Linked DNA regions of Homo sapiens: all the other regions are linked to region 3. Evidence: promoter capture Hi-C in 16 types of primary human blood cells and fetal thymus (Javierre and others, 2016). All regions are on one chromosome and are shown on one strand. Each heading gives the region's core, a stretch centred on a gene start or on the middle of the fragment in contact. The rest is flanking DNA. Distances are from core to core; before and after follow the strand shown.

The links. The method cuts DNA at HindIII sites, captures the fragments that hold promoters and counts their contacts. A CHiCAGO score of 5 or more calls a contact.
Region 1: the fragment with the promoter of DNAJB14 here is called in contact with the fragment with the promoter of STPG2 in region 3 in 6 of 17 cell types (neutrophils, monocytes, total CD8 T cells and 3 more); the score reaches 12.9 in neutrophils.
Region 2: a fragment that was not itself captured here is called in contact with the fragment with the promoter of STPG2 in region 3 in 1 of 17 cell types (monocytes); the score reaches 7.3 in monocytes.
Region 4: a contact is called between a fragment that was not itself captured here and the fragment with the promoter of STPG2 in region 3, in 1 of 17 cell types (neutrophils). The highest score is 5.3, in neutrophils.
Region 5: a contact is called between a fragment that was not itself captured here and the fragment with the promoter of STPG2 in region 3, in 1 of 17 cell types (neutrophils). The highest score is 5.9, in neutrophils.
Region 6: a contact is called between a fragment that was not itself captured here and the fragment with the promoter of STPG2 in region 3, in 1 of 17 cell types (neutrophils). The highest score is 7.0, in neutrophils.
Region 7: a contact is called between a fragment that was not itself captured here and the fragment with the promoter of STPG2 in region 3, in 13 of 17 cell types (naive CD4 T cells, M2 macrophages, naive B cells and 10 more). The highest score is 11.5, in naive CD4 T cells.

Annotation. Positions count from the first base shown.
Region 1 is chr4:99,945,365-99,948,064 of GRCh38, forward strand. It overlaps DNAJB14 (DnaJ heat shock protein family (Hsp40) member B14), which reads right to left and starts at 1,254. Exons shown (of 8, transcript NM_001031723.4): 1 at 1,075-1,254. The coding sequence starts at 1,207. RefSeq lists an enhancer at 638-687 and a silencer at 858-1,517. The HindIII fragment of the contact is 11,087 bases long and covers 1-2,700 here.
Region 2 is chr4:99,895,323-99,898,022 of GRCh38, forward strand. DNAJB14 (DnaJ heat shock protein family (Hsp40) member B14) reads right to left here. Exons shown (of 8, transcript NM_001031723.4): 8 at 926-2,700. Among named protein-coding and RNA genes, the nearest start is that of LAMTOR3, 2.2 kb to the left of the region's middle. The HindIII fragment of the contact is 2,445 bases long and covers 54-2,498 here.
Region 3 is chr4:98,142,058-98,144,872 of GRCh38, forward strand. It overlaps STPG2 (sperm tail PG-rich repeat containing 2), which reads right to left and starts at 1,419. Exons shown (of 11, transcript NM_174952.3): 1 at 985-1,419. The coding sequence starts at 1,093. RefSeq lists an enhancer at 1,146-1,245. The HindIII fragment of the contact is 14,460 bases long and covers 1-2,815 here.
Region 4 is chr4:99,842,817-99,845,516 of GRCh38, forward strand. The region is part of intron 3 of DAPP1 (dual adaptor of phosphotyrosine and 3-phosphoinositides 1); the gene reads left to right. Among named protein-coding and RNA genes, the nearest start is that of DAPP1, 27 kb to the left of the region's middle. The HindIII fragment of the contact is 3,832 bases long and covers 1-2,700 here.
Region 5 is chr4:99,570,496-99,573,213 of GRCh38, forward strand. It overlaps a transcript of MTTP not described here. Among named protein-coding and RNA genes, the nearest start is that of MTTP, 3.0 kb to the right of the region's middle. The HindIII fragment of the contact is 9,913 bases long and covers 1-2,718 here.
Region 6 is chr4:99,825,090-99,827,789 of GRCh38, forward strand. All of the region lies in intron 1 of DAPP1 (dual adaptor of phosphotyrosine and 3-phosphoinositides 1), which reads left to right. Among named protein-coding and RNA genes, the nearest start is that of DAPP1, 9.6 kb to the left of the region's middle. The HindIII fragment of the contact is 3,328 bases long and covers 1-2,700 here.
Region 7 is chr4:99,406,975-99,409,674 of GRCh38, forward strand. No RefSeq gene overlaps it. Among named protein-coding and RNA genes, the nearest start is that of ADH7, 27 kb to the right of the region's middle. RefSeq lists an enhancer at 1-2,700 and a cis regulatory region at 1,412-1,753. The HindIII fragment of the contact is 3,083 bases long and covers 1-2,700 here.

The sequences.
Region 1 (2,700 bases), core at 4-2,503, 1.8 Mb after region 3:
AAACAAGTGGCCCCATATTTTCATTAATAATTTTCTACAATTAATTGAATCTATCGATAACTTTCTTCTTAACCTGGAAATACTAATGGCAAGGCAACAGTGTAGCGGTTAAAGGCCTTTTCGAGTCTGAAAGTTCAGCTACTATTCTGACTTTGCTACTAATTGTTGTGTGACCTTGGGTAAGATACTTTCATTCATTCGCTAATTCATTCATTAATTATCAGAAAGTCTGTTTCCACGTGGGTAAACCTGGTCAAATGAATCCTGCACCTCTACACAGAATTGTTCTGAGGAATAAATGAAATAATCCATGCAAAATGTTGGGCACAACTATTGGCACTTTGTGCTCAATAAATGTTGGCTATTATTACTCCGAAGCCTATCGAGTAGGAAAATAAATAAGCTGACTTCAACTAAAGGAAACCCAGTACCATATTCCTCAGAGATTTGGTTCGTCGATAATCATGGTGTTATCAAATCAGATACTCTTCAGCAATCATTACTGACTCTTGACCATTCTTGCCGAAAGTGTGCTCTTCTCTTTTAAAGGAACTCTCTCCCAGGGAAAAGCAATGTCATCTCAGGTATTCGATGTTTGCTTTGGGAACAGTTTTCTACAGATCTCAGAAACATGGAATCTGAGATTAGCCACTAGAGTACACCATTCCTCTCACTTCGATAGGGGCCTAGGCCTTATGTAGGACTGAGAATGGGGAGGGAGGGGGCCACATAAACAACACAGATACAAATAAAGCCTCACTGTGGTAAGACGGGACCAGACAAGTCTCCTCCAGGGAGAATGAAACCCGGACATTTAGGACAGCGGAACGCGGAGCCGGCGGGCAGGCGGGTGCAGAGGAACCTCGCGCAGCATTCCCCGAGCCCCAGCCCGGAGCCGGGGCTGGGGCCAGGGCGGGGGTGTGTCGGGATGCTCCCCACCGGGCCTGGGGCTGGGGCTGGCTCAGACAGGCCGGGGGCCCCGCAGGCCTCCAGGAGGGGCCGAGGTGGGGGCAGGGGCGGGCTACGCGGTGGTCTGGGGATTGGGCAGGAAGAGAAGGGACGCTGAGGTCTCACCGCGGGCCGAGGGCAGTGGGTAGAGCTTCTCGGCCTTCTGCAGGAAGCGCTGGGCCTTCTCGCGGTTGCCGGCGTTCAGGGCCTCCCGGGCGATCTCGACACATTTCTCAGCCTCATCCCTGTTCCCCTCCATAGCTTGCTCCTTCTTCCGTTTCCTCCGGCAGCGCAGCTAAGAAGGGCGGAAGCCGCCGCCGCGGAGGAGGCGAGGCGGGACCGGCTGGGGGCGTGCGGCGGCAGCGGGGAGGAGCGCAGGGGACCGCGGCAGCGGCTGCGACGGCCCGGGCGGACGGGCGGGCCTCGCAGCTCCGCCTCCTCACGGCGGCCTCCCCGCCCCCCGCGGGCCCCTAGGGCGCGATCCGCATCCGTCCCGGCCCAGGACCAACCTCCTGGGCCGGGGCGTCCGAGCTGACTCGGTGGTCCGCGCACGGCGCCAGCAGGCTCGAAGCGGACCTGCCCGGGAGGCGGACGATAGCAGCCGGGCTGCCCATCGCGGGGAGGGGTTCCGCCCGGGACCCGATTGCCGGCATTGGTAGCGCCGTGCCCTGTGACCTCCAGGCGAGGCCCTCGCAGCTCAGGCCAGGAGGACAGGGTCCGGGAAGGGGACACTCGTTTTCAGTAAAATTGCCAGGACTTGGAGGTTCCGCCTCTGGGCCCCTCAAGCGAGGGAGGATGCGGTCAGGTGAGGACCAAGGTGTCAGTCCAGTCTCAGCACTTCCGGGACACGTTAGAGCGTCGTTTGAACCTAATCTTAGGGCTTGTATGGCAGCCTTATTTCAGCTACATTTTTTCTGACCCGGATGTCTGGCTATCCAAAGTACAAAGCAGTTTAATTTGTAGCTTGCAACGAGTGGTGCAGATCGACCTTAATCCTGTGTAGCCAAAACAAGGCAGGAATCAGCCCCTCAGGGGCTGCCCTAACGAAAGCAAACTTTTGATTTCACCTTTTCCGTCCCATTTGGATAACATTACCACTTGGAAGTACCGTGTCTTGTTAGTCTTCGCGGTGGGGGTGGGGGGAATGTTTGCTATGTGCAAATTTTTTAAAAAAAAACATGACAAACTGTCAAAATGACCTGCTCAACCCAACCACAAGGTAACAATTTTTACATAATGCTGTGAGCCAAGCTGTTAATTCTGCTAACTACCATAACTCGGTACTTTCAAATAAGAAACCCTGCTTCTCTTCGATAAAATGGAGATAGTATATCCCCAATGATGTTACTGAGTACTTAACAACTTCAGACTTCAAAGCAGGGCCTGGCACGTAGCACTATTATCTTTAAAGTTTAAATTCGGAGTTCATTCTGTGGATATACAGGACATTCCTACCTATTCTCTCCCTCCCCAAGTCCACCATGCTAACAGCATACTAGTGCAGTGCTGTCACACAGCAAGCGAAGCCAATGTACAAACTGAAATGGTCACACTTAGCCTAAGAAACTGACAATCCCACTCCAGCTCCTGCCAACTTTTTAAATTAAAACTTTAGTAGCTCATATAACATTAAAAAAATATACTTGGGCTATCTCACTTTGTTGATCTACAGATTTGACAGTTCAGTCACAAAGAAATGTGCTTAGTTATTGCTGCTAGATGAGATACTCAAAACAAGTTCCTATTACAACC
Region 2 (2,700 bases), core at 26-2,525, 1.8 Mb after region 3:
GATCGCCCCACTGAACTCCAGCTTGTGTGACAGAGCGAGACCCTCAAAAGAAAAGCTTCTTTAGAAATCGCATCCTCTTTCAGCTACCACACTGTTTTTCCTCTACTCCCTTTCATAGCCAAATTTTCAGAAAACTTTAGCCTGGTTTTCAATTGCTGCTTCCATATGTCACAAATCTAATCAGAGTTCTGTTGATTCTACCTCCTATCTTTGAAAACTATTCACCTATCTATATTCCTACCCTACTCCAAGCCATGATCATCTCTCTTTTGACAACAACCTCCTATTCTTCTTACATTCTCTTTTGCCCTCCAGTCTCCACACAGCAACAAAAATGATGTTCTAAAGACCCAAATCACATCATTTAACTCCTTCCTTGAAAATCAAGTTTATTGACTTAGGATAAAGTTCAATATCAGCATCATGGTTTATATATCATTCTTATGGGGATCTGGCCCCTATCTTAATTCTCTCACCTACCCTGGATTCCTTATGCTATGATCATACAAGTTTGTTTTCACTTCCATAAAGATTTTTATCACTTTACCAACTTAGCACGTTCTGCCTGAGATATTTCTCTAGCATACCTTAATCCTACTAATCTCATCTTTTGCATTTTGGCTTAAACTCACTCTCAGAGAAGCCTTCCCTGACCCTCACTGAATAGTTTAGGTCTTCTAGATAAATGCTTTCATTGTACCCTGTAATTTTCTTTGTAGAATTTATCATAATTATAATTATTTACTTGATATTTATTTTCTTTGCTAGATGTAAACTCTTTAAGGTTTTTGTCTTTCTTATTCAGTGATTAATTCCCAGCACCCAGCTCACTGCCTGGGATATAGCAAGCATTGACATACTTGTTGAATAGTTGAATGAATGAAAGAGTGGCCATATTGAGTATAAAACATGATAAAAACAAACATTTTACAGTGAGAACAGACCTTTTTATTAATATATTGAGATAAACTACAGAGACTGAAAGACAAAAATTCATATTTCATTCAGAACATTCATTAAAAATCAAATGCATTTGAGTTCTCACAGAAAATTTTATGTAAGTCTGATATAACATTAAATATTTTACAAATCAGACATTTCATTTTGAAATCTAATTTTTAATCCTGAATGCATTATAGACAAAGTAAGCTCTCCTTTACCAATTTCATTTAACTTATACAAGGCTTCCATTATAATTCCATCAAACCTTAAAAATTACCTGCAGCTTTTAAAAACACATAAAGTAAATGGAAAGAAAGTCTTATGTAGCAATCCAAAAACTAAAACTAGAAATTGGCAAGAAGCATTTCTTAATACAGATAAACTGCAAAATATCATTTATGTGTGTTTCTTCTCATTGGTTTAATCATCCTATTAAAAATAATTTTTTGAAAGTAATAATTACAATACTCCAATGTCACTGAAAATCTCTATGATTTTAATGGTGTCCTTAAATGGCAAAGTAGAATATCAGACTGAAATGTACAGAGTGTTGTGCTGAAGTGAATGAGACTTGCCATGCCAGGTGTCATCTGCTATGCAGTTACAAGACATCTTGGCAACTAGTCATCCCAGTTTTTACTAACTTACTAAACAAGGACATTTCAAGAAATACTTCTTACCCCTATGTATTTCCAGATGGCTGGATATAGAAAGATATAATTATGTTTGAAGCATGGGCCTTATAATAGGAATCTCTCCATTAAAATATGAAAAAGAGCAACAAATAATTCACACCAATGAAATTGTGTTGACTGATTTTCAAAGTCAGACATAAAAATATCCACTGCTAATGGAAGCCCTGCTCTGTGCAAACATAGTGTGGTATATATTAAACAATCACACATTTGAGGTAATTAGCTGGGAAAAAAAAAAAAAAATATATATATATATATATACACCTATACATAGACACATCCACAGAATATTCACAAATCTATTGGCCCCAACACCAGCAGATAGTCATATTAAATGAAAAATATCACATACCAACAGGAAAAAGTTACACATAGGGAATATACAAAAAATATGGTGCTATAATCCTTAATATAAGGAGTATGTTTTGAATTAATGTTTTGAGGAAAAGTGTTTCCATTTATATGAAAGTATCTATTTAATAGTAATAAAACCAAAAAGGAAGCTGAATTCTAGGACTGTTTTACCTGCCAAATAATTGAAGGGATGAGCAAGAATTCCTTGAAAAGCCTCATTCTATCCTTTTTCTTTGTAACTAAAAATTAGAATTTAAAATGTTGGAAATTATTGCCAGACAAGTTTCTTTTCATTGGTTTATAGGGAATTTTATGGATTTTAACTAGGCAATGGTCCAATGTGGTCAACAGACATGGTTTTTCAGCTGTTGAATGAAAATTAAAATAAAGATTTATTGTTGATTTTCATTAGTTTTTCTGTTCAGATAAGAAAAAAGATTATGAATTCCCTTTCAGTTTGCTTCACTCATTATGAAGATGGATAGTAATAGGATAGTACTGAACCCAAGCTTCACATGGGGAAGCTCAAGAAATGTACAAATTCTCTTCTTAACCATTTGGTCCTCTGATATAAAACTTGCTTAACTGGCAAGATGGCTCACTTGGTCCTCAAGCCAACATCAAGAAATATTTAGCTGTCTTAACACAGGTGGGAGACTTTTTTTTAATGAAATACATAGGAATCCATTAAGTAACATTAGCATGTCAT
Region 3 (2,815 bases), core at 169-2,668:
TCATTGTTAGCCATTGTTAGGGGAATTAATGCTTATAATGCCCAACTCCATTAAAATAAAGATAGAATAAGCTGCAAGAATAGTGATACCAGATACTGTGAAGCAGTACAATTCAACATGTGAAACACTGACAGAAGTCAAATTTGTACTCCACCCCAAGAAACCTAAACCTTCCCTTATCTGATCAGTTATGTAACAGAATAATGGATCCTGGCATTTGCTTGAAAATACATAGTGTAGGTATGGGGAAAATGTAGGTTAAGAAAAACTATCATTTGGACGGTATTAAGCTCCAGAAAATCACCAGAATAGAAAAAGTAGAAAGCAAAATTGATGTATTTATTTTTGACTAAGTCACTAACTGCAAACAAACGAGGAGAGCAAATATTATTTAAATTATCCATCCCCACTCCACTGGTCAAAAATATAATTTTTCTTTACAGAATGTGGAGAAAAGGGGCTCCCCTGAAGTGTGTTAAAAGAGATGAGGACGGTCAGAAAAATCTGTCTGAAAAAAAAACGGAACTATCTTTAAATAATACTGCAAAATAGAAATATAAGCTACATCTTAATAAATAAATGTCTCTGGTTAATGGGAGGAAAGATGTGAGGCAGGCAGGATTACAAAGCAACGAGACAGCGGGAGGTAAGGGCACAGGATTTGGAGACTCATATATTATGTCAACACAGCCAGGAAATCAAAATCCTAGACCTAAACTGCACAATCAAAAGTAGGATGTAGACAACTATTGCGGAATCAAAAGTCCTAGCCATATGCTCACCAGCCTTTTGAAATGGGACAAGTGATACTATCAGTCTCATCTGTAAAATAAAAGTATAGTGTTTTCCCTGCCTACTTCATGTTTTGTTATGTTTACAAAATGGTACTATTCCGCTCTATGTTTAACTCACAAGCACGCAGAAGCGGAGCAGGCTGAAGATAGGATGCCTGTCACAGGAGCTCTGCCTCTTCCTACATCTTACCTGTCGCCTGCTGCTTCAGGAAAGGTACCTGGTAGGATCCAGGACCCACATGGGCCTCAGTGCTGCCACCTTCAGCCAATTTGAGCAGGCGGGGAGCCCGATCATACATAGTGCTCGGGGTGGTGGGGGCGCTGGGGAAGGGCAGGTGCCGAAAACGATAAAAACAAGGTAGCTAGAAGTGTGGAGAAAAAGGAAGCCGACACCAGTCTGAGGAGGCCGGGAAAGAACTTCCGTAAACAGGGAAATTAGGGGTGGGGTTGTCTCCCCGCCCGCTCATTGATACCAGATTTCCTCAAATCGATTTCTAGCTCTGTGGTAAAGTAGAGGGGTGAGCGACTAGAGATTAGACGTCCCACACAATCATCAGTTTGCCAGGTGCACGCCACCAAAATTGGGTATTAGGGATTAGACGCTCGCCCCGGTGCTTCCGGCCCTGACTCCGCCCACTTCTCTCCGCCCGGAAGCCTGGGGAGGAGGCGGGCCCAGTCTCTGGGGAGGAGGCGGGCCCAGTCTCTAGGGAGCGAAGTGGAGGTGCCTTCCTGGGCCGAGCCCTCGGAGCATGCGCACCGAGCAGCCACCCTTTCCCGGCTCTTTTTACCCGGAACCCGGCGCGCCTTGAAGAAGGCAGGCCTAAACCTCGTAGCTCTTGGGGTCCCGGTAACTACTTAGGTCCCGAACTTTTTTAAGTATGCAGAAGAACCTTAGAAAACGCGTTAGGAAGGGTGAGGACTAACTTGACCTTGATCTGCTTCCCGACTCAACAGAACCTAGTAAAGAAAAATGCAGTAGCATGAAGCAGAGAGCTTGGGGTTCCGCAAGCTCTCCCCCGCTTCTACTGCAGCCCCACTCGTACTCACAGAGAAAAGGCACCTCTGATCTTAACCTGTAGATAGTCCAAACTGCTAAGACAAACCCAGGGCTCAGGGCAGTGACAAGAAATGGAGAACCCAGAAAAAAAAATAACAAATAAGATAAGGGTAAAAAAGAAAAAAAAAAAAAAAGAAATGAGGACACCAGGCAAGGAGGCGAAAAGCTCACCAACTGAAGCCGTGGAAGTGACTGAAAGCTGCCTCTTTTGTCGTATGCCAGGTAACCACAATACTGATTCATCAATATTTAAAAAGCAAAGCGAAGGCACTGAAAAAGCCCAGTCCACCCCACCAAACCAATGATTCTGAACCTTGGGCAAAAGAAACCTTGCTTGTCCTTGGGGCTTAAGGAATCTATGTCAGAATCCACCTCTGCATCTCGCAGGCTGTTTTTTCTAGCAAGAATTCTGTCCAGATTATAAATATCCTCAGAGGCTTAGACAAATCCTACCTTGATCATACCTCACCTCCAAATGGTCTACAGTACGTTAATTTGTTCCTACTACAAGTTTTTATAGTTTTCATACTCTGTAATACACGATTTGCCACTCAATCCTGTGCAACATTTACTGTGGCTTCATTGTGCCATATAGGTCGGAACCCTCTCCTTGCGAGGCTATATGCTTCTCAAGGATGTATCTGTAGTACCTTTTTTTCTGTTCAATAGCTAGCTAAATTATTTATGCACTTAAAAAACACGAATTGGCATATACTGTAGGTTCCATCCCTGCTAAGTTATGAGGATACAAAGGCATAAGAAAGTCCCTGCCCTCAGGTGTTCTCTCTCTAATGGGGAAAGAGACGTATAATCCAAAACGAGAGGTGGCAAAGATTTTTTTTAATGGTAGGAAAATGAATATTGCAATATTTTGGAAACATCTCACCAACTTCGATTCTCCCTGCATTCTGTCAGAAACCCTCATAATTCTCTCAATGTTGTTTTAACCTTATTTTCCAAGCTG
Region 4 (2,700 bases), core at 15-2,514, 1.7 Mb after region 3:
ATGTTCACCTTCAGATGAAGTACAGATATTTCTTTCTTTTTTTTTTTTTTTTTGAGACGGAGTCTCGCTCTGTCGCCCAGGCTGGAGTGCAGTGGCGCGATCTCGGCCCACTGCAAGCTCCGCCTCCCGGGTTCACGCCAGAAGTACAGATATTTCTTATAGCTTATGTTTGATTAACATCACCAGGAAAAGCATTTGTCCACACAATGGACAAGCCCCTCCCAGGGCTCTCAACTTCAGATTACCAGAATGACAAGGACTAGAATTGGATATTTCAGGCCACTGCTCTCAGCCAGACCCCACCCAGGCCCAGCCTCACCCTGCAGGGTCTAGAGGGTAAGTTTATTAAAGAGTGACTTTCTTATAATACATTTATCTACTGGCACAAGTGGTATTACCTTTGAGGGCAACAGAAATGATATCCAAATAGCCAAAACTTTACACTTTTGCCTTGCAGTTATATATAATGCCTTCAGTAGAGTGAAACCCAGAATATTTGATTTTGGGTCGTAAGAACATTTTTGCACTCAAAATAGATAAAAGTGTTGACCTAAGGGGATTAATGCTATTTTAAGATATCTTTTTTTTCTATTCCCTACTCTTTACACTTTTAGGATTTCTGTTTGCTAATCTGAAAAGCAAGGATTTCCTAAGCAACATCTAAGCCTCTTGACAACTTTAAGAGTATTTTATGATAATTTCCCTTTCCCTTGCCATAATCTCTATTTCATCTCTCTAATCTCCATTAAAGTTTCTGTTCACTCTAATTTCTTTTTATCAATACCCATAAACACTCTTAAGATACTTCCAATTCTCAAAACCTAATAATTTCCCAAGTACATGATAGAGATATACAATGTACTCTCTTGCTTTATTTTTCTCAATGGCCCTTTTACCTTCTGACATCTATAATTCACTTATGTTTTTTAAAAAAATACCTTTTTTTCCACACTAGTGTGTGAACTCCATGAAGAAAGGGACTTTTGTCAGCTTTGCTTCCTGCTATGTCCCAGGACCTGAAAAAATAAGTACTGATCATTTCCACAATATGTCATGCTGGATGCCCCATTTCCAATGCCTGCATTGCAGTTTTTTGCATGGCAACATCAAAACTAGCAAACTTGTGACAATTTTAACTTTCAAAGTTTATAAAAACATAATTTGAAATGATATTTTGTGTTGCATGTATGCTCAGTGATGATTAAATTCAGAATTTGCCTTTCATTTGTGATAGTGTTGCAGGACTTTTCCTTAGTTCAGCTAAAGATCGGGTCCCTCTCCATCCCACGGCCACAAAAATTTAGGCTCGCAGACGGTTTGAAGGGTGAGTGAAGCAGGGTTTTATTGGATGAAAAGAAAGAAAAGAGGGAAACAGGGAAGCTAGAGCGCTTCCTGCCCAGCAGTTTGAATTCTATGTTCCTCACAGGAAGAGGAGGGGCCAGGCTCCTCCCCACTGCAAAGGACACGAACTTCCTAAGGCTTCACCTCAGTGGGCAGGCCGGTTGGAGTTTTTCTGTCTCAATAGTAGGATATCAAATAAAACATATTCATGTCTGTGCATGAACTCTAAACTAAACTCAAATAGACTTGAAAATTTGAGAAACTTTTTTATTAGTATAAATATGTTTGGTCCATTATTAATTTTGTCGTAGCCTCTTGTAATTAGCTAAGTTTCATATATATAGTCTTGAAAATGTAGACGGCATTTATCTTTATGCTTAAATGTCTAAATATGATTAGAACAAAAAATTACTTTTACCATTACCTTTTGTTTATGTTTCAATAATTCTTAACATGAAATTGCCATGTATAATTTATTACATTGTATTGTGACTGTAATCACCTAACAGGCATGAAAAAATATAATACAAGTCAAGTTCTATGTTTGTGCTTACCCTTTATAATAATTGGTTCCCAATTTTAAAGATCTCATCTGGTTTTTTGGTAAATGTCAAATCTCCATTTCTCTTTTTGTTTTGATATGGGGATTCCCAATCTTTTGACGACAGCTACCGCTATTATTATTTTGTTTTGTGACACCACCCAGGTGATATTTTTAAATAATGTGGTTAAAATTAATTTTAATTTGAGAATTGGGTGGTTCTTCAGAAAACAACTAGTGACAACTTAGAATTTTTCCAAACTTCCTTGGATGTTTGCCAAAAATACAAAATGTTCTCAGTTTATAGATGAGTTTTATTCGAAAAAGGAAAAAGCAGCTGAGGAAGGGAATTAAGCCAACATTTTTAGAGTGTTTGCTAGGTTCCAGGCATTCACCTACATCAACTTATTTCATCTCAGCCACCCACAATAATGCATACAACGGTCCTATTTTCAGATGAGGAAAGGAAAACTCAGAGGTTTTAAGTCACTTGCCCAAGTTTTCACTGCTGGTAAACATCAGGGCTGAGATTGGAATCTGGGCTAATCTGGTTCTAAAGCATAGATGCTTTCCATGCACCTTGCTATCTTTTGAAACTGGTCCCACAATAACAGTACATTGTTGCCATGGTACAGTGTGGCCTTAAATGGATTTGGAAGAACTCAGAGCTGAGATTGGAATCTGGGCTAACCTGGTCCTGAAGCATAGATGCTTTCCAGGCACCTTGCTATCTCTTGAAATTGGTCCTACAGCGACACTGCAATACATTGCTGCCATGGCACAGCATGGCCTTTAATAAATTTGGAAGAATTTCTGCT
Region 5 (2,718 bases), core at 119-2,618, 1.4 Mb after region 3:
GTGTTTTAAAAATTATCCTGCTTAAGACTTATTGAGCCTCGTGAATCTGTGGATTGGTATCTGTGATAGGCAGACAATGGCTCCCCAAAGATCTTAAATGTCTTAATCTCCAGAACCTGTGATAGTCTAAGTTAAGGTTGTAGATGAAATTAAAGTTACCAATCCACAGACCTCAGGGTAAAAAGATTATCCTGGATTATTTAGGCAGGCCCAGTATAATCACAAGGATTCATAAAACGGAAGAGGGAGACAGAAGAGATGGTCAGAGTGATATGAAGTAAAAAGGATTCAGCTTACTCTTGCTGGATTTGTAAATGCAGGAAGGGACCACGAGTCAAGGAATGCAGGTAGCTTCTAGAAGCTAGAAAAGGTAAGAAACAAATTCTCCCCTAAAGCCTCCAGAAAGGGATACACCTGCCAATACTTTCATTTTATCCCTGTGAGACCAGTGTTAGACTTCTGACCTCCAAGAGTATAAGACAATAAATCTGCTGTTTTAAGCCACTAAGTTTTGTGGTAATTTGTTATGGTAGCTATGGAGAACTGATACAGTGCCTTTCAATAGTTCTTGGAAATTCTTCAAATATATTCCCCAAATATTGCCTTTGCACCACTCACTCTATCCTCTATATCTCTTGACCTCTCTTTAACATTTTTTATTTTCTTATTTTGGTAATTATTTAAAACAATTGGCTTCTTGTTCCACTTCAAATAAATTCATATTTTTATATCTACATATTAAGAATTAGTTCATAAATGTAATTGTTGTATCGTATATACTTTAAAAGGAAAATTGCATTTATACTTGGATATTATTATATTTTAGGTTTTGAAATTTCTTTTTTTAAATGTCTGATAAATTTATTCTGATCAAAATTAAAATCTTATTGTATTTACAGTAGTCTACTAAAAGAGTTTACATCAATTCTCTCCTTTAAATGCTAGCAATTCAGTTTTGTGTGGTCAAAGATAATTTAGAATCCTTTTATGGTAACTGATATGATACAAAGGATTTTTTTGGTTGTTGTCAAATTTGTATGTGCGTATATATGTATAGGGGGTAGAAAATTTGGTTAGTGACTCTATTTTGGAAAAATGAATGTTCTTTTTGGAGTTTTAGATTCCCAGTGTTTCAAACCAAGTTTGCTTTTGATAAGGAATTCAGTGAATCTTTATTTTCTCGTAGAGAATTTTTAAACAATACCTTTCAAAATATTGTATGTATTCCTATATAATTTTGCCTTGGAATAAAAAAAGTCATCACATTAAGAATATTTTTAACTTAAGAAATTTTTTCAAGATTCTTTCAAAATGCTAACTCCCTCATTGATTTGAAAATACTTTTAGAGTTTAAACTATTATGACCATGTAGGGATAACTTAAAGTGTCCTTCTAAATTTTTTTTTCATTAATGTCATGCTTCTTTCTAAGAACAAAGTGTTTCAATGTTATAAACAGACTGTTTTTTCACATAGCTTTCATACATCCTGACTTTCTATATCTAGTAGGGTAATACATTTCCTTCCAACCTTTAGTGGGGTGAAGTTCATTTGTCTTCTAATCTAAGAAAATACGTTAACTCCTGACAACCTCTGACACTCAACAGAAACACAACTGTACTTTGGAATTAATCATCCATCTTTATTTCATAGTCTCCTTATTTATCAATGCAAATGGAAGTATAGCAAATATTTCACAGTGTCATGTACTACCTAAGGAATTTCATTGCAATAGCATTGTTTTGAAATGTATCATTTGATTTTGATCTAACTATCATAGATCAGTTTTACCCCTGTATGTTCAGCCTGAATGTCTAACCACAATTTCACAAAAATCAAGGGCTCTGTTAGTTTTCATACAAAATTGTGATGACTTATTATGAAGACAGTCCCAATTAACAATTGCATGTCATCTGTAAGAAATCAATTTTTTTCTCACTCCCCACCTGTAATTTTTTTTAAGCAAAGAAGAATACTTGGGTCTAGGTTTCAAGGTTTATTTTTCTGTAGTCCTAATATCACTTCAGTAAATTAATCTGAGACTCATTTTTCTAATATGTCAAATGACTGTTGTAAGGATTATTATAAAAACGTAAGGTGATTAACAAAGTATGTAATTGTTCCATAGATGGCAGCTCTTGTTTTTTTACTGTGCTTTGCTTCTGCCCTGCTTCACATATTATGTAAAATAGCTGGTGAGTTTTAGGAGGTAGTGCTCACATGTTTGCACAGTGTTTGCTGTGGACGATCAACAGTAACAGAAGAGCATACTTCTTCGATACACAGAGTTTACTGAATTTGGAAAGGCTTTGGCATTCTTATGTCATCTGTAATGAAACAATCTCCAGAAGTCTTTTCTAAAATGTCCTTGTAAAAAGAAAAAAGTTATGTTTATATTTTATAAAAGGATGATGTTATTTATAACCAGCAGAAGCAGCCTTATTTGAACATCTTATGTTGAAATTGCTACTTAATACAGTGACTCATAGGAGCTTTCTAGTGGAAATCAAATGCTCAAATGAAATAGAATTTAGTTTGTTAGGCAATAGTGATATGTCTTTTATTGGTTGGACTCTGGAAAACACTTGACAACGAATAGTACTTTACCCGAAGGGCACGTATCATGCACCACATAGCCTAACCACAAACATTAAAGGTCTTGTAACTGTGAGCCTCAAATGAAAATACATAAGGACAGCTCTCATACAATCAAATACAA
Region 6 (2,700 bases), core at 48-2,547, 1.7 Mb after region 3:
TGCCCCTGTCTCCTGGATCACTCTTTGGGTCTGCATGTGCATTCCCTAAGTCTCTGTCCCCATGTGCTTCTGGCTATCTGTGTGAGCTGGCGAGTCTATCTTGGTCTCTTGAGTTTTGTGTCTCTATCTTTCTATCCGTCTGTCTGCAGCTCTTTGACTTTTGTGTCTCTGAGACTTTGTGCCACTCTGTCTCTGAATCTCTGAGTCTCCATGTCTGTCTGTCTCTGTGTTTTCGTCTTCCAGAGCTTCTTGCATCATTTCTCAGACTTCTTCAAGAACAGGTTCATCCTGATCTCAAACTCCTACAGAATTCTCTCCTCCCTTTCAGTTTTGATTTCCATTAGCTGAGCCTTGACTCCCACCAAAAAACTTGGGACCTGCCTTTAACTCACAGATCAATGAGATATTTGCATGCTCCGCCTCTGTCATCACTCAGGTCTGTTTTCTAAAGCCTGGGGCAGCTGGTCTCACCATTTAGCTCTGCTCTTAGCTCATGTAAACATGGGCATTTAGAAAAGCAATTTTGAAAGATACAGCCCTGCTGGTTCCATCACAGAAACGTCTCTATTGGAGAGACTCTAGAGAATCTTTCTTTGGCCTCCCCTGTATATCACACTACACCTGTCTGAGACCATGTAAGAACTTCCAAAATCCTTTATAAGGCTTCGGCTTGATTCCCTCTATTTGAACAGGGTCCATTGCTATTATCAATGGAAAAATAAGCCCACACTTGTGAACATGTGACTTAATGGGCTTGTGTGGGCAACACCATCTTTCTTAGATATGTCACAACCTGATTCTAATATAAATTACAGCACTGGTAGCTCTTGAGTTACATAAGACACCCTAAACCCATGATTTCTAATGGCATAGAGGGCCAAACACTTTACCTTTCACAAAATCAAAGTATCTAGCACCGACCCTATGAACAAATGAGCATGAATGAAATCAGCAGCCAAGGAATCCCATGGAATAGTTCAAGTGGTAAGAACAGATTAAACCTTAGAGTGTGAACGCCTAATAGATTCATCTTTGTTCTATCACTGTTGTGTTCAGAAAGATTGTGAGGCTAAGTATAGGCTCAGCAAGAAAGACACATCAATTAGCTGTGCCATGTATGAACTTAGAGAAGGGGTGTGGCACATATGTTATGCATTTGTCATCTTTGGTCTAGATAGTTCAGAGGGGTGTCAGTGTCATATAAAAGTGAGAACAACTTTGAAAATGAAATAAGAGAAAATTTTCTAAAGAAGAATGCTTTTGTTGGCTGTTCAACTCCAGGGCATTTTGGCTGTTTTAACACAATCAGGAGTTTTTTTCCCACTTTGCGTTGAAATATATGTCCTCTTTATAACTCTGATGAAACAGAATTGAGGTTCTATTTCATGTATCTTTTCCAGGCAGGGAAAAATATATCATTAAATATGTGAATAATCTGTAGACATGAGTTACTAAGACATTTTGTCATCAAGAAATATACTATCTAAATGGATGTGTGGCATGTGTTTTAAAGTGCAAGATTGCTTTCTGTGTCCACCAGTTCTTCCAGAATTATTTTGCACCACTTCCCAACAGGGACCCTGTGCTCCAGCTAGGCATTTGGTTGCCCATGCACACCAAGCCCATGTCCACTCCAGTGCCTTTGCTTATGTCATTTCTCCTCTCAGAATGCCTCTCACTGCCTAATGAATCCTATATTCATTCTTCATACTGCAGTTTATCATTCTCCCGCTCCATGAAGTTTTCCCTGATCATTCCAGCCCACTGTGAGCTCCCCTTCCTATGCTATAATATTTACTGTCCATATCACTAAGATAGCAGCTATTTGGTGATTCTTCTATGTTAACCTGCAGATCCTTCTCTTTTCCATTCTGTTGGTACTGAAAAGTCACTTAGTACTTTGCTTTGCCCTTCTCTTCAAATGCCAAATTCTGTGAACTCAAACTGTTCACATTATTGAAGTGAATTAAAGTTTTCAGGCCCAAGAGTCCTTCCCATACATGCTCCTCAAACTCTAAAGTGCATAACAATCACGTGGGACTTAGCAGGTTGAGGGAGGGGCCTGAGGTTGTGTGTGGTCCATGTTGGCTGCTCATTAGCAACTCTTTTCACTTGACACTTCCCAGTAGTAAAAAGTTTCTTATTGCACCTGATTTTAAAACCATCACTCTTGGCTGGGCGCGGTCTGTAATCTCAGCACTTTGGGAGGCTGAGGCGGGCGGATCACGAGGTCAGGAGATCGAGACCATCCTGGCTAACAAGGTGAAACCCCGTCTCTACTAAAAATACAAAAATTAGCCAGGTGTGGTGGTGGGCACTTGTAGTCCCAGCTACTCGGGAGGCTGAGGCAGGAGAATGGCGTGAACCCGGGAGGCAGAGCTTGCAGTGAGCCGAGATCGAGCCACTGCACTCCAGCCTGGGCAACAGAGTCAGACTACGTCTCAAAAAAAAAACAACAAAAAAACAAAACAAAAAACACCATCACACTTATAAGTGCAGATGAAGGAAATGACCTAATTGGAAGTTTTAATCAACAGTAAGTCCAGTGTGAATCAGCTATGTGATGCAATTGTGAAGAAACTAATGCATTCTCGGGCTGCCTTATGTGTGCCCAGCAGCCAGAATAAGGGAGCTCCTGTGCTGCTTTGTTTTGCAGGTCAGAGTTTAACGTTAAGACAGATTTTTTAAGTTTGAAAGGTT
Region 7 (2,700 bases), core at 186-2,685, 1.3 Mb after region 3:
AGATAAGTATCCTTCTTCTTAAAGAAAACGGAGGAATAAGAAAGAGTTCCTGCTCTGATGGAAAGAAGGAGGGCAGAGATAAAACCTACGCCTAGGTGTTTGGCATTACCTCCATCCTTTTCAGGTGGTGGTCTATTCCCCTCTCTCCTACATGAACAAGAATCTGCTGGGGCTCAAGCAGAGCTGGTCACAATGAACAGAGCATCTCCTCTACATTCTACACATCCTGTCCATGCTGGGACCGTGAGGTATCCTGCTCTAAGGCTTGAAGTGAGAGAATGTGGATGTATTAGTTCATTCTCACACTGCTATAAAGAACTGCCCAAGGATGGGTAATTTATAAAGGAAAGAGATTCAACTGACTCACAGTTCAGCACGGCTTTGGAAACTTACAATCATGGCAGAAGGCAAAGTGGAAACAAGGCACCTTCTTCACAAGGCAGCAGGAAGGAGAAGAGCAAAGAAGGAAGAGCCCTTTATGAAACCATCAGATCTCATGAGAACTCACTCACTATCACGAGAACAGCATGGGGAAACTGTCCCCATGATTCAGTTACCTCCACCTGGTCTGTCCCTTGACATATAGGGATTATGGGGATTATGGGAATTATAATTCAAGATGAGATTTGGGTGGGGACACAAAGCCTAACCATATCAGTGGAGAATGAGTGTGATGCTGCTTTCTCCTTTGCTCTCAAAAATCCTTTATGTATTTAAAGCACAGAGGAAGAGAGTGCTGAATTTAGCATTCCCATGGGTGGGATTGGGGGATTTGAATAAGCCATTCAAATTAATTCCAAGGCCATTCTACAGTAGGCAGGGACATGCATTCGGTGGTTATTGCAGGAATATGGGCAAGAGATAAAGGAATGAACTAGGGCAACAAGCTAGCAGGGAAGAGGAAGAGAGAATTGATTGTTTCAATACTTTTAAGTTTCAAAGGGACAACACCCCAAAGTAGGATTAGAATTCTGCCATACCAAGCATCCTCTAAGCAGATAGGGATAAAATAAGGTTTCCTGATGGTGCTGGGACTGAGGTCCTAGAACCGAGTCCTCTCTTGTTTCTTCCGAGGGATTTCATCTTCGATTAAGCTATCTCTTTTGAGTGTTTCTTTCAAATGTAGCCAAGTGCTTCCTAGAACTTTCAGTGTCTTCCAGGAGAGACTATGTCTATGATTCTAATTTTCTAGAACAAATGCACTAGATAAGTCTCCTAGTTTGAAGCAGCAAATTGCAAGTGCTTTAGCACCTTTTCTTCCTTAGGGAGACACCCCTCAGTCTTCTTTTGGAAGGTAAAGGAAAACCAATAACCAATTTTATGACAATTTCAGAAACCCTCTCAAAACCATAGTAGGTACAGAAAAGTTATTAATAATAAAAAAGAAACCTCATTCTAGTTAGAACCTTTGAGAATGCTATATCAGACTTCAGAAAATAGCTACTGTGAGTTTTAATTGGAGGTAGAGTTGTAATCAAACCCAGGCCTCCTGAATTAGGTCACCACATCACACTTTTGACAAGTTGTAATACACAATCAGAGTACAATATTTGTACTTCCTATTTTTTGGCAGGAAAGTTTGTTTTATAAAAGGCCTTTCTGAATAAATAGTACTAAAATGATGCATGCCAGGTAGTTATGTAACTATGTGGTTCTTTGCCAAAACTTGCATTGAAATTTGTAAAATGCTAGTGAAATTAAAACAACATATCCATTTTTTTTTTCAAATATACCATTGCAAATTCAAGTAAGCCTTATTATTTTTTTAAATTTTACTTTAAGTTCTGGGATACATGTGCAGTACGTACAGGTTTGTTACATAGGTATACATGTGCCATGGTGGTTTGCTCCACCTATCAACCCGTCATCTAGGTTTTAAGCCCCAGATGCATTAGGTATTTGTCCTAATGCTAGTAAACATTAATTAAAATGTTGACTTGAATCTGAAGTGTAAGTCTCATTGGTTTACCAAACAGAAAAATAAATCCAAATTTAAAATTAAAAATTTGACTACCTGAAAGAGCTGTTGCCAAAAACATGCTTTATTATTTCACTCAATTCTTTGGCTAACATGAAGATGCATTTAATGAGCTGGACACGTGACACAGCCAGAAATACATAATCTTCTCAATTCAATTGTTAAATCAGCTAAGAATGTTTGCGTAGTGTCCATTGGGCACAAAACGTTCTATTAATACTAGGTACTGTTTTGAGAAAGAACTTAGAACATAATTCTTATCTTCTGACACTTTACATGTAAAACGGAATGGACTTTCAGTGAAGGCATCCGTCACTTTTCTGTACCCTATAGGGTAACAGACAAAGTCAGATACATGGTGGAAAGAACTACTGGAACCTAAAGCTGGTGGCCTAGGTAATCGAGATTTTCCTTAATGAAGGGAATCTAACTCTGTGAGGGAGTAAGGAATAAAAAAATGGACAAATACCTATGCATGAAGAAGATGAATACTATAAACTAGTTTATGGGGCCTTGGTTAGTTACTTATTACATAAAAATATAAATAATTTTAGATGTAAATAGCAATGAGAAACAAAAAAGAAATTGCTGGTGAAAGAAATCTTTGCAGAGACTGGAGTTGAAGTCGTGGGCAAGAGGGTACTCTTGGGAATGCTATTTCTATATAGTCCTTTTCTTCCTCTAAATTAAAATAATTTCATATCAATTTTGGCACTAATCAA